Linked DNA regions of Homo sapiens: region 2 is linked to region 1. Evidence: promoter capture Hi-C in 16 types of primary human blood cells and fetal thymus (Javierre and others, 2016). All regions are on one chromosome and are shown on one strand. The core of a region is centred on a gene start or on the middle of the fragment in contact, and the rest is flanking DNA. Distances in the headings are between cores, read along the strand shown. Region 1 holds the start of KIF13B (kinesin family member 13B). Region 2 has its middle 33 kb from the start of SARAF.

Region 1 (2,700 bases), core at 122-2,621:
ACTGTACTCCAGCCTGGGTGACAGAGCTAGATCCATCTCAAAAAAAAAAAAGTATTTTTATACTTTTTGACAACATTGCTTGTATTGAAGATACTCAATAACAGGATGGTTGGTAAAAGGGCAAGTCTTACCAGCTTTCTGTATTTACTCATCTGTAAAATGGTTCTGAGTTCTATTACTATCATTTAAACACATCTAAGCAGGGGTCACAAACCCACAAGGTCCAGGCGCATGTGTGGTAAAGCCACCTGGAGGGGGGCCGTGGTGAAGTGGAGAGACGGGTCTCTGATAAAGGTGGCTGCTGCTATTTAGTTCCAATCCACTCTGTCCAATATGTAATGTAGGCCCAGTACTGCATGCACAAATCTGATTTCACACTCTGTTACCCAAGCTGGTCTCAAACTCCTGGCCTCAAGCAATCCTCCTGCCTCAGCATCCTAAAATGCTGGGATTCCAGGTGTGAGCCCCTGCACCTGGCCACAAATCTGATTTTTATGTGTTGGCCAACACTGTTGGGCCAAACAGAACATGTTTGCGTGCTGGCTCTGGCACCCAGGCCACCTGTTAGAATGTCTGCCAGGGCTAATAAAAAGCTAATTTTAGTGTGGCCTCATTCATTAATTCATGCAATTAATGTTTATGGGTCTCTACTAAAGGCTAGGTTACACATATGTTAATCTTATTTAAAAATGTACCTATTTTACTAGGTATTAGTATCATATCCACTTTTCATATTAAAGACAAGCCCAGAGCGGTCAAATAACTTGCCCCTGGTCACACAGTGGGAAGCGCTGAGGTGGGCTTTGAACTCAGATGGTTTTCAGAGCCCAAGGTCCTGTCTCAAAGGAGGGGGACTCACAGGACAATGTTAACCCGTGGACCTATGGACACTCCCAGAAAACGTGATTTGCAACTTGTCGTGAAGGACGAGCTCAGCAAACAAGGCCGGACGTCAATCCAGGCAGAGGAAATAACTTGAGCCAGGGATCAAACACTAAGATTGGCAGGAAATGAGCAGGAAGAGGTAGCGGGGTCCCTGACGCCATCTATTCAATTGTTTTTCAGAAGAGGTATCAGCTCTTGAAGGCTTACTTCTCAATACTGGCTGCGAGAGCAAGAATGGTGTGTAATTTACAAAAGCCGTCATTGCTGTAGGTAAGTTGTAGCAAACGACTCGCGCCCGAGCATTCCCGCCCCCGCCTTCGCTGCGGCCCCGCCCACGACGACCCTGGGGAACTACAAGTCCCGCCATACAGCGGGGAGCGCCCGGAGCTCGCGCCGGCCCCGCCCCCAGCCCGGTCCCCACCCCCGGCTCCGCCCCCGGCCCCCTCCCGCCGGGTCAACCCCGAAGAGTCGCCGGTGGCCGCGGCAGACGGAAGCCGAACGAGTTCCTCGGCGGCTGCAGGATGGGGGACTCCAAAGTGAAAGTGGCGGTGCGGATACGACCCATGAACCGGCGAGGTGAGAGCCGAGCCCTCCTGGGCCGCCGGGGCGGAGGCGGCAGGTGCCTGGCGCGCCCTTCCCTCGGCCGCCGTGGGGGGTCCGGCGGCCCCGCCCCTATAGTCAGCGGCGGGGCGCGAGGAGGGGCCCGGGGACCCTGAAACCCGCTCCCGCGCTGAGACGCCCGGCTCCCTCTTCTCCCCTCCCTTCCCCCCTGGCCAGCCCCGTCCCTGGCGCCGTCGGGCCCCTCGTGCCGGCCCCGCTGCCCCTTCCGCCTGCGCCCGCCCCGCCCCTGCGCCCTTTTGCCCTCTCGTCTCCCCCGGAGGTTCCCGAGGGCGCCCTCGGCCCTCGCGCCCAGCCTCGTCCTGGCCCCTCAGCCTCGCTCCTTCCCCGCCAGCTGTCATCGTCGCCCCCGCGCGCGGGTCGCCAGCCCCTGCAGCCCGCCTCGGGACCGCCCGGGACCCCCCGGGACCCCGCGTCTCGCCCGGGTCGCCCAAGCCTGCACCGCCTTGGCCCGCGGCGGGAAGAAGGGCAGGGGGCCAGGCGGGTGCCCCGCGGCGAGTTCCTTCCACCTGGGCGTCCTGAGATTGGGGTCAGGTGGAGGAGATGCCCTTTTCGTTGTTTTTGGACAGTTGAGAAAGTTTTGGTTTTGCCTGAAGTCTCATTCATCATCTCTCAATAAATAGCTAAAGTGCCAAGATTCTTGTGGAATTGTATCTTTCTGACATTCTCTTAACTCTGCAGGGAGTGTAGAGAAGGCAGATAAACCGAGTACATTTAAATAATCTGTAGACCCGGGGAGTGGAGAGAACCCCAAAAGTCAGGGGAGGAGGTGGGCTGGGTCTTGGCTTTGATAGTCAAAGCAGCATGACTGGGTGAGTTGCTTTAAATAAGATAATGTGTTTGAAAACGCTTTATATACAAGGTCCTGTCATTGGGGGTCACTATTACTGTCTCAGGAGATGACTTTGCCATTGATGAGACTTTGAACTAATTAGAATCATTTAAGTACCAGAGACAAAGTTGTAGCTTCTTAGCAAAATCAAGTGTTGTTTAATTTTTATGTAGAAATTATAGGTTGTTTTCCTCTTCTTTGCTTTCTTTTGTATATATTGAGACATACAGATCAACCAGTTGACATAAGCTTTGTTGGTTTGTCCTTCTCGGGGAAATTGGTTTCTCGCTTGGAGTTATCTCATCTATGGGAATTGTTTTGTCCTGTTCCTGCTAGGTCCGATTAAAGCTGTCAGGTGAGTTTTT
Region 2 (2,700 bases), core at 37-2,536, 790 kb before region 1:
TAGAACCCTTCCCCTTTTTACACAAGTATATTTCCCCTTTTTACACAAAATGTCTCTGACATACTATTAGAATCAATGTAGTCTGCTGTAACTGGTCTCACATTTTCAATCATATAGGACTTAACTCTTTTCCATACAGCAAAATATTTCCAGATTCTGATGACTTCTCATCTCTTCTGCTATTGTCACTCAGGTTCAAGCCACTATCATTTGCTGTCTTAGTGGGGTCTACCCTGACAACTTGCATCAGTTAGGATAGGTCGGGTTATGCTGCAGTAACAAACAAGACCAAAAATCTCATTAGCTTAATATGTAGCTCACACCAAGTGTCTAACACAGGTTGGCAGGGGCTTTGGCTCATGATGTTATTCAGGAATTCTGGCCAAGTGAAGCTTCCTATGGCATGCAGCAGTGGGAGAGGCATGTGGAGAATCACACACTATACTTAAAGCTTCTGTCCAGAAATCACACACATCATTTCTGCTCACATTCCATTGGCCAAAACAAGTCCTATGGCTGTACTTAACTTTAATATGATAGGGAAGTACAATCCTAGTATAAGCCTGGAGATCAAAAACCATATGTATTTGGTGAACAGCAGTAAGGAAACCAAACCACTCTAATGATAATTTCACTTCCCCATTTCTGCCCTAGGACTTTGGATTTCCCTTATTCTGTTCTATTTTCTCCTATAACCCTTATCTTCTGACTTACTATATAATTTACTTTATTATTACTTTTCCTACCCCCTCTTTCTAGAATATAAATTCCACAAGGACAGGGATTTTTGTCTATCTTGTTCTATACTATGTCCATATTGTTCGCAACAGTGCCTGTCTCATACTAGGTATTCAACACATATTGAATGAATGAGTAACCAATGGATCATACATCAATTTTCTTCACCTTATACAACAGCCCACCCTATATGTGGAATGATGACACAAATTAGAGAAATTGACACTGTGCTTATTCAAAACCATGATATTTAGGCTGGGCATGGTGGCTCACAACCGTAATCCCAGCACTTTGGGAGGTTGAGGTGGGCGGATCATTTAAGGTCAGGAGTTCGAGACCAGCCTGGCCAACATGGTGAAACCCTGTCTCTACTAAAAATACAAAAATTAGCCGGACGTGATGGTGGGCGCCTGTAATCCCAGCTACTCAGGAGGCTGAGGCAGGAGAATTGCTTGAACCTGGAAGGCAGATGTTGCAATGAGCCAAGATCACGCCACTGCACTCCAGCTTGGGCAACAGAGTGAGACTCTATTTCAATAAAAAAAACAAAAACAAAAACAAAAACAAAAACCCAAACCATGATATTTAGGAAAGTCTTTGCAAGTAGGATGTCTTACTGGGAGAATGAAGTCTTTTGAATCCGGGACCTATTAAAGCATCATGACAACAAGCAGATTGGGAATATTGTTTACTGTACTGTCTTTATTGTTGGATGCATAAGCATGATGGTAAACATAATGGTAAGTCAATTATTTTCTTTTCTTATTTAATTAATTACTTATTACTTATTATTACCTTTCACTTGATGATTTCTGGAAGCTGGTGTTGGAATGGCAGTGTCGTCCCCCACATCCATGGCCACGATGTCCGGCTAAATTTTGTATTTTTAGTAGAGACAGAGTTTCACCATGTTGGCCAGGCTGGTCTCGAGCTCCTGACCTCAAGTGATTCGCCCACCTCAACCTCCTAATTAATAAGTAATTAATTAAATTAAATCAATTAGCTAATTAATTAATAAGTAATTAATTACATTAATAATCAATTAATTAAATTGGTCTTGTTCTGTCACCCAGGCTGGAGTGCAGTGGTGGGTTCATAGCTTGCTGTAGCCCTGAACTTTTGGGCTCAAGCGATCCTTCCACCTCAGCCTCCAGAGTAGTTGGGACTACAGGTGTGTGCTACCACACCCAGCTAATATTTTTTTCATTTTTGGTAGAGATGGGTCCCACTATGTTGCCCAGGCTGGTCTCAAACTCCTGGCCTCAAGAGATCCTCTTGCCTCGGCCTCCTAAAGTGCTGGGATTAGAGGCATGAACCACTGTGCCTGGCCAATTATTTTAAATATATGCTGTTTCGGTCCCTGCAGAGGCAGATGGAAGCTTAAAAGCTGTCAGCAGTCAAGCATCAAAAAGTGGAGTCAGATTCCTCATTGCGTATACATTCTTATTATTAGTTCAATACTGCCTAACTTGATATTTTAAATAACTCACAATTATTAGTTAGTTATTGGACTTCATGGAAATGAAAGGATCTGTTGTCATTTTCTGTAGGGAAAATGCCCGTGTGGCGGAGCAACAGGCAAGGATGCTTCTCAGATGACTTCCATCATTAAGTGTCTGTGATTCTGGGACATTGCTGTTCCAACACCAGCTTCCAGAAGTCATCAAGTGAAAGGTGATAAAGAAATTGTTTTATCTCATTATTTCCCTTTCTTGCCTTACCCTGTAAGCCTGGTCATAAGAAAGAAGAATAGGCTGGGCGCAGTGGCTCACGCTTGTAATCTCAGCACTTTGGGAAGCCAAGGCAGGCAGATCATTTAAGGTCAGGAGTTCAAGATCAGCCTGGCCAACATAATGAAACCCATCTCTACTAAAAATACAAAAGTTAGCTGGGCGTGCTGGCACACACCTGTAATGCCAGCTACTCAGGAGGTTGAGACAAGGAGAATCACTTGAATCTGGG

The links. Contacts are between HindIII fragments. The CHiCAGO score rates a contact against its expected background, and 5 or more counts as called.
Region 2: a contact is called between a fragment that was not itself captured here and the fragment with the promoter of KIF13B in region 1, in 5 of 17 cell types (activated CD4 T cells, total CD4 T cells, fetal thymus and 2 more). The highest score is 9.3, in activated CD4 T cells.

Annotation. Positions count from the first base shown.
Region 1 is chr8:29,261,741-29,264,440 of GRCh38, reverse strand. It overlaps KIF13B (kinesin family member 13B), which reads left to right and starts at 1,371. Exons shown (of 40, transcript NM_015254.4): 1 at 1,371-1,461. The coding sequence starts at 1,407. RefSeq lists a silencer at 1,164-1,993. The HindIII fragment of the contact is 3,487 bases long and covers 1-2,586 here.
Region 2 is chr8:30,048,393-30,051,092 of GRCh38, reverse strand. No RefSeq gene overlaps it. Among named protein-coding and RNA genes, the nearest start is that of SARAF, 33 kb to the left of the region's middle. The HindIII fragment of the contact is 1,666 bases long and covers 454-2,119 here.